Regions from separate parts of the Homo sapiens genome. Here region 1 is linked to region 2. Evidence: promoter capture Hi-C in 16 types of primary human blood cells and fetal thymus (Javierre and others, 2016). All regions are on one chromosome and are shown on one strand. The core of a region is centred on a gene start or on the middle of the fragment in contact, and the rest is flanking DNA. Distances in the headings are between cores, read along the strand shown.

Region 1 (4,458 bases), core at 472-2,971, 660 kb before region 2:
ATTTATGTGGCTATCATGGTGTCCCTAGCTTGAGCCTAAGCCAGCCCTGTCACCCAAATGCCCACACGTTTGGGCATGTCTATGAGATTGGTGAAACTGACCTGCCAGAAGACAATTCACAAGAGAGACTAGATAGCATTTCTGGGGAGAGAACTCCTTCCCAGGGAGGATGAAGGTAGACAAAGTTGAACTATTAACAAAACTTTAATAATTGTTGCGAGTGATACTTCTGAGAATATCATTGTGCCCATCACTTGATTCATGTACTGGACATTCCCCCTTAAAATACCCTGTGACTCTTATAGGGAGATAGGCAGGAAAGAACTGTAGAGAAAAACAAAGAACTTCTCACTAAAGTCTTGGGAGCCTTTGGAGCAGTACCTCTTCAGTATTTGTGTGAAAAATTACATCCCTGAATCAGGGAATGAGGCACTTCCAGACAGCTGTCCACTTTTCATGCAACACAGAGTAACTTCTACATATTATGAATTTCAGAGAACCCAGAGCAACTTTAGGTCTTCGGGGACTCAGGTTCACTGGCCAGAATGCAACAGGAGATTGTGGTATCCATAAGACATGGGCACAATGTTTGGCAAAGGCAGCAGTATCCAGCAAGTTACAGTGGTAAATTAGTGATATGTCAGCTGGAGGCAGCGCTAAATACATTTAGACAACATTGAAGACCTCAGAGACTGAGTTTCAGACATCATGGATATGGGGGATACCTAGTGCAGGAAAAGAGAACAAAATGTCAGGTATCATCTATATATGATATATATCATATATATGTGATATATATCATATATATGTGATATATATCAGATATATATCTATGTAGCTGGCAGTGCTTATTCAAGAGCACACATAAGATAACCCTTGGGGATCCATAAATATTTGTGAAGGGCTTTGTAGGACATTAGAGATACTGCATTTTAATAGGTAGGGTCAGGAAGCAGCACAAATAGAATCCTTAAGCTTCTTGGGCTTAGTGGAAGCCTTTTTTCTGTTTCTTTTTTTTTTCTGGTTGTTAAAGACATCTTGAAATGAACAACATATTTGACATTTTTAAGAGAGACACAAGGTATGTTTTAGAAATTATATAAATATATATATGTTGTTTTTATAAGATTAAGGGAATGATAATTATGCCTATGTAAGCATTAGTCTACTGTCTAATAAATGAGATTACATGTGGGAGGCAATATATATATGAAACCCTTTTATACAATGCCTGGAATTTAGAAGTGTGCAAACATTTCTAATATCCTTTCAATCAGGAAGATGCTTATAATTTGGGGCAGGATAAGGATAGAATATTTGATAGGCTTAGAAAAGAATAGCAGTTCAAGCCTGAATGCACATTAGGTTCACCTGTGGAGATTTTTAAATACAGAAATGCCTGGGAGGATCCCAGATCTCTGAATCAGGATATCTGGCTGTAGGACTCAGATGCTTTTTAAACAGTTCTCAAATGGTTCTAATGAGCAGCCAAGCTTTTGAATCACTAATGTGGAAGATGGAGAAAGTATTAGTTTTCTCCTTTATGAAACTAAAAGCTAAAGGACTATCTTTTCTTTCTTTAGAGATATACAAGGGTCAAATGGAAAGAGTACAGGGATGTAGTCCTGGACTTTACTAATGAGGAGGGTCACTTAATCTCTTTCTTATCAGTTTCCCAGCTGTCTAATGGAGGCTGTGATACTTTCTCTCTAGAGCTATTGTATTAACAGCAGCGATACATCTATACCATAGGAGCTGACCTGTAGTACCCATAGTAGGTGGACAATCCACGTTACTTCTTACTGTTCCTTTTCTCCTCTCTCTAGGTAGACAGTGATTTTTTTCCAAAACAAGTGCTTAAGCATCCCAGGTTTACCCTGGACTTTAGCTTTCCATCTGTTTGTATTTGATCATGTGCCTATCTTGCTAGATACTCAAGATTAAGCTTTTGCAGTTCATAGTATAATGGGAGAGATGAACAGCAAACCAATTATACTGATATTTATTCAATTGCAATTTTGTTAAATGTCACAAATGTAAATGACATGTTGTAAGGATCTCTAACAAGATTTTCTAACTTAATTTACAGTGTATTTTAGCCTTCTTCTTTAGCAATCCTTTTTTTCATATTGATGTATTGACAGAATTTTTTTCCTTCAATGTTAATGTAGAAAGGTTTACTGTAGGGAATAAAAATCCCTTATCCACAAGTATAAATGAACAGATGCATACTATATTTTGCCTGTGGGTTACATTATACATATGCATGCTACTTACTGTTATGGGTAAATATGTGTATCCTTAATGCCAAGTTTTCTGAAAGCCCCTTTTTCATGTATTTTAATAAAAAATCTAGGGCTTAAATTTTATTTAAGCTGTTGGATTAAAGACAAAAAGACTAGTTCTCATTATGGTCTAACTTGGCTGAAGTGACAATGAAGAAGCATCTAGAGTCAGCTCTATTTGGCAACACTAAAAAGAGAAATCTCTCTTACCATGTTTCCAAAAACAACTTTCAATTAAATTTCATTTGGGATTAGGGCCTGTCCTAGTTACATACTTCACAAAATTAAGATTTATAACAAAAGAATCTTAATGTTTTAATACCATTAGCCAGAGCTATAATCTATTTATTTTTTTCCCATTGTGTAAAATTCAGTGTTCCTTTTCAAATGGTATGAAAATTTTCTCTCCAAACCTTCTGGTGTTGGCAGTCAGATTTGGTTAGGTGGAAAAATATTTATTCAGTTAAAGATTATATGAGTCTCTTTCGCTTTTCACTTTTTATAAGTAATTTAGGCCTTCAGGCATTTGTGTTTATGAGAAGTTTCGAAGAAATTTCTTTAACTGAATAGTATAGGTGCCCATGTTGAAAGATTATCTTAAAATTGGCAGTAAAAATATTAGATGAATAAATGGCTCATGGAAGTCACTTTTTAAAATTTATCAACCGTTATGTATTTATGTAAAAAACAAAGGCCATTTTTCTCAGTTCATATTACATACCATGTAAAATAAATATCAAAGTAAACGTTTGAGACAATATTGTAAAAATTAGCACATTCAAACCATTTAAAATTTCAAAGCATTGCTAAAACATTAAACCTTTTAGATATGTTCTCAACCAAATATTATTATCTCTATTTTATAACCAGTGTTATGGACATCCAAGGACAATGTTGATTTTGTTAATAAATGGTGCATCAAATAAGTATGTGGTAAAAAATGAAAAGTTGATACATTTATTCTTTCCTTATTATGTAAAGTCTGTTTGTAATAAAAAGGAGTTCTGTACATAGGGCAATAGATTTATGCACAATGAATTCATAATTGTTTCCCAGATGTTCATATTTAACTAGCAACCATTATGAAAGGAGTAAGGCTTTCAAAGGTTATCTTTCTGATTAACAGCTTTCACCATTCCTAGCTGGGTGATTTTATAGTCTGCCAGGGAAATTAACCATGTCACCTCCAGATCATAGCTATCATAATATAGATAGAATATAATTCCACACAGTTCTATCATATTTTGAAATGAAAACTAGATATGACTTGATCTCACTTAATGGTTGGTGTATTGTCATAGACATATTGAATTTCCCAAAATCTGAAGGAAAATGAACAGTTTGTCAAAGTCGGTATATCTGAAGGGAAATGGACAGTTTGTCAAAGTCAGTAGATGGTTTTAAATGCTGTACAAAAATACAGCTGTCAACAGAGATGAAACATATGACTACAAAAGCACTCTCAAGGACTTGGTGTCCAATAATTAATTTTTCTTTTTTTATAATGCAATCCAGTATGCCTTTGTGTCAAACTTCATTTTCTAAGAAAAGCATCTTTTTGAAACAAACTATCCCTGTAGTAAAGAGGAAAATACTAAATCAGAAAAATACCAACTTTATAGATGGACTAGAAATTTTAGGGACTTCTTTGCAGTCTCAACAATGAAATATAGCCATGAATGCATATGCCTTCTTAAGCTTGAGTGGCTTATTATAATCAGACTAAGTTCTCATACCATGTAATTCCATTGTAGTTTATGACTTAATTCCGTAAGAATTATAACTGAAAGAGCCTTGCCTAATCAAAATAAAATTTAATTACATATTCACATTATAATCTAAAGAACAAAGGTTTTAGTTTAAAATCAGCTTTATCTCTTTGTCCTGAATGGAAAATAAAGAATTATAATTTTTTCCTCAGTTGTGACTTTCTTGCCAGAACTCATGAATGTTTCTGTATTCCTCTAATGTCCAGATTTAGATATTTCCTTATCCAACCATTTTTCCTTCTATATCTTCTAACCCTTTGTGTTAGTTTGCTAGGGCTGCCATAACAAAATGGCACAGACTGGATAGCTTAAACAACAGAAATTTATTTTCTCACGGTTCTGGAGCTAGAAGTCCAAGATCAAGGTGATGGCAGGTTGGTTTCATCTGAGGCTTCTCTCTGTGG
Region 2 (4,019 bases), core at 1,501-4,000:
AGTAAGTTTTACATTCATTTCAAAACAAAAACTTGGGCAAAATTAACTGTGCACATTTATATGCAGCTAACATAATCCAACGGAATAAAACCTCTCCCGATATAAACGCTGTCTTAAAAAAAAATATTCCCCACAATTTTTAGCAGGACATATAGACACTGTAGTGTCACTCTACCTTTAGACAAAATGCAACTGACATTTGCTAAGAAATAACTTTTATTAAAAATACTGTGCTAGTACTTATGCAATTACATAATTTTAACTAAATATTGTCCACTGCCACAATTCGCATTACCAAACTCATATTACCAAATTTTAGGCCTTGATAGAGCCTAAATGCTTCAGTCACTTCAGACCAATAACTTAATTCTGTTTTCACATACCTTATACACTGGCCTACCAATAGCTCTCAATTCCTGTCAATACTTTCCCCATTCTGCAAAAAGAGGGCCCCATCCCCATCCCTAATCAAAACCAATGTGTTGTACCTGAAACTGCAAAGATTAATGCTTTTCGATGACCACTAACTTTTGAAGCCCGAAGGCCTAACTTTTAGACAACTAAAGCTACACACTGTTAAAATTCTTGGGCTTCTGTCTTATTCAGCAAGCTGACTCAGTAAATTTAATACACTGTATGAAAAAAGCTAACATACCTACAATCTAAAGCTGGAGTAAACCCCTCTTGCCAGCATTTCTAGATATTAGCTGGTAAAATACAACTGACATTCTACACAAATCAGTAAAATTAACGATACCAAAAGGTGTCAGAGGACCTGAAACCTAAAAACGGTGAGCAGCAATTCTGGCATCACAACAATACTTAAATTTCAAGCATGAACTGAAGTTTTATTTCTGCAATCTTCACTTGCTACACACAATACCCTTGAACCTACACATTACCATCTGGGATCAGAAACTACTCAATATCCATTCTATGTTTATGACAAGAGCACTGAACATTAAATGCTACTGAAGTGCAAATTTCAAGCACTATCCTACATCACCCCATAGGGAGAGAAAAAGGTAAATATAACAAAGATCTAGTAAGAACGCCTTATAAGGTATATTATGGCACTATTGACTTCAAACTACAAAACTTCTACATACAGTTCAAAGTTGTAGGTAACTTAAGTTTAAACATTAACAAAACTACTTTTTGCCCTCAATGTGCACCATATATACTGAAAATGATTCTGCTTCTAAAGTTATGCAAATCAGTCATATTTTAAAAGAATCTATCAATGCAACTCAGGAAACTAAAACAATCACTGCAAGATTCTGATGCAATATGCGTACGTGCAACACTAATTTTCATTTTATTCTGATCTAAACCCTTGATCTAGGGCCTAAGCCAAGATTTAATCGAAATATGCTCAACCTCAAAAAGCGTCTACTTTTTTGTTCATTTAGGAGACCGGATTACCGAGCTCGCTAATCCACTAACAGTGTACTGTATTCTGTATTAACGGACAATAGCCCTCAGGAAGAGACCATATAGATAGCCTAAGAAAGCAATCGGTGGCTTGACACTTGCAACCAGGCAAGAGTTCCGTCTAGCCAAACACACCCTAGGTTGAATACACAGAAAGGAAACACAAAATATATGACCTAGCAACCTGACCAGGGTTAAATGTTATAGTCACCCAAACTACGGACATTTTCGCATCCGTCTACTCCCACGTTCTAAGAGAGTGACAGAAAGGTAAAGAGGAGCAGCCGCAGAAATGGATACAGGTCAAGTCTAAGTCGAATCCATCCTCTTGATATCTCCTTTTGTTTCTGCTAACGATCTCTTTGATGATGGCTGTCATGTCTGGGAGCCTGTGGCTGAAGAAAAAGGAGGAGAGAGATGGCAGAAGCTGCTGGTGGCGGGGCTTCTTCTGCAGGATGGAAATGGCTCTGGACTTGGCGGTAGCTGATGCCCCTCGCTCTGCCGCCGCTTGGCTCTGGACCGCAGCCGGGTAATGGCTGCTGCGGCGGCTGCTGGATGGTTGCAGCGACTGGGCCTGCTTCTCCTCAGCAGCCAGAGGCCTGGCAGCGGCGGCAGCGGAATGGGGAGAAGACGAATAATCCTCCGAACGGCTGCCTCCGCCGGCGGCCTCCGGAGCCCGGGCCACGGGGGGTGCGGCGGCGGCGCACGGGAGGTTTAAAACCGGCCCGGGTCCCTGGATGTGCCAGCCGCCGCCGCCGCCGTGTTGGAGGCAGTAGAAGGGGAGAGACCAACTCTCCGGCGTTCCCAGCCCTGGAAATGGTGACAGGCGACTCAGACCCCCTCCCTGGAGCTGCAGCCGCCGCGGCCGCCGCCGCCGCCGCTTCTCCCCCCCGCTCCAGGAGCGGGAGGTGCCGCCGCCGCCGCCGCGCCTCAGCCGGCTCCCGCCCGAGCCCACGGCTTCCACCTTCCCTTTCAGGAGAAGCCGAGGAAGAGGCTGCACGGTTAGAAAAGACGAAGAGGAGGCGAGAAACGCCGCCGCTGCCGCCGCCGCAGGCCGGCCGGCTCCCCGAGGGCGCTGCCCCCGCGGCTGCTCACAGGCGCTGAGAGGGGCTCCGGGCCGCGGCCGCCGCCGTCTCTCATCTCCCTCGCCTGAGCCCGGCCTCGCCTCACAGCGGCTCAACTCTCAAACTTCCATCATGGCTGCAGCTTCCGAGAGGAGAGAACTGAGCGCAGTCGCGTCCCAGCGCCGAGCGCGTATCCTGCCGCAGCGCATAAAGAGTCCCGCCACATCACCGCCCGCCGGCCTGCCCGCCCCCTCCGCCGCCGCGCCGGGAGCCCGGGCGCCTCGGAAGACCGAGGGGAGGCGGGAGGCGAGCGAGAGGCGGACGGGACCGCGCCGGGCGAGGGGAGGGCAGGGCAGGGCAGGGGGCGGTAGGAGGGGGCAGAGCGGTAGCTCTGGGTGCGAGCGCAGAGTCCCCAAGCCGCAGGCTCTACTGAGCATGCCCAGTGTAGCTGCCTGGGGCTTGCTCGGGCCGGTTCCCAGCCGCCAGCCTGCAGCTGCACTTGCTGCGGCTTTTGCAGCAACGCGAGGCGAGGATAACGAGCTAAGCCTCGGCCTCTGCCCAGAAACCCAGCCGGAGGCAGGGTAGGCTGTTGTGGGGCGGGGGTGGAGGACTGATGATGAAAGCTGAGATGGGTGCGTTGAGCAGTGTCACTGACTCGAGTCTGAGGTTACCTGTGCACAGGTGAAAAGGACCAGGTGACCACGCTGCTCAGTGTAGAGGGAAATGCAGGGACGGTCCCTGCAAGGGGAATACCCTCCCCCCTTGCCTCTACCCCTAGATTTCCGCGGCGTGGACTGCATTCGCTCTTTCCTTTTGCACCGCTGTCGGATCACAATCGTTCGCAGAGATTTGACTGTAACAGCCTTTGCCTAGAGATTCCCCCTTCCCCCAAATCTGTGTCCTCATGGTGTCAGTCTTAGCACAAAGAGCAACCTGCTATTGTGTCGCCAGCGTGTATCACCTCATCCGGCTCCCTTGCAGCGCCCCACCTCTCGCTTCCCCGGTAACTCGGCTCGTTTGCCCTAAAAATGAAAGCTCTCAGCCGAGCGTGCTGAACGTGAACACATAGCCGTTGAATTTCAAGGGCCCAAAGGGCACCTATCTAAATGAACTGAAAGAGGATCCCTGTGAGTGGGACGCACCCCGCAGGCCTCTCCTGCGCCCGCTCCGGTGCCCCCAAGAGAGTCGAGCATCTTTCCCCTCGGGCTCCAGGTCGGTTCGCGGCGTCGGAGTCAAGCTCGGTTCTCAGAGACCACCTAGCCCCGCCCCCCCTTGGCCGCCGTGAAAACCCGGCAGGATGGATCGCCCGGGGCCAGGCTCCGCGCGCCCCGGCCGGACCGTGCACGTTTGGGGTTACCGGGTTGAGTGGAAAGTACGGAACGGTAGGAAGCTGCAGCCCAGCGAGTGGGCGGGGCGAGGAGACCTAGGAGGGTTCAAAAGGAGGTGGAAGGATACACGGGCCACAGTCGGAACTACTTTCCGAAGGAGGTCACGTGTGTCCCTAGTTGGGGAACTTTCCAA

What was found. The method cuts DNA at HindIII sites, captures the fragments that hold promoters and counts their contacts. A CHiCAGO score of 5 or more calls a contact.
Region 1: a contact is called between a fragment that was not itself captured here and the fragment with the promoter of KLLN in region 2, in 1 of 17 cell types (total B cells). The highest score is 5.5, in total B cells.

What each region holds. Positions count from the first base shown.
Region 1 is chr10:88,516,066-88,520,523 of GRCh38, reverse strand. All of the region lies in intron 4 of RNLS (renalase, FAD dependent amine oxidase), which reads left to right. Among named protein-coding and RNA genes, the nearest start is that of RNLS, 65 kb to the left of the region's middle. The HindIII fragment of the contact is 452 bases long and covers 1,496-1,947 here.
Region 2 is chr10:87,862,264-87,866,282 of GRCh38, reverse strand. KLLN (killin, p53 regulated DNA replication inhibitor) reads left to right here and starts at 2,750. Exons shown (of 1, transcript NM_001126049.2): 1 at 2,750-4,019. The coding sequence starts at 3,796. It overlaps MLDHR (mitochondrial lactate dehydrogenase regulator), which reads right to left and starts at 2,724. Exons shown (of 1, transcript NM_001433720.1): 1 at 2,629-2,724. The coding sequence starts at 2,724. The coding sequence ends at 2,629. It overlaps PTEN (phosphatase and tensin homolog), which reads right to left and starts at 2,658. Exons shown (of 9, transcript NM_000314.8): 1 at 1,735-2,658. The coding sequence starts at 1,813. RefSeq lists silencers at 2,364-2,503, 2,594-2,903 and enhancers at 3,504-3,683, 3,934-4,019. The HindIII fragment of the contact is 7,182 bases long and covers 1-4,019 here.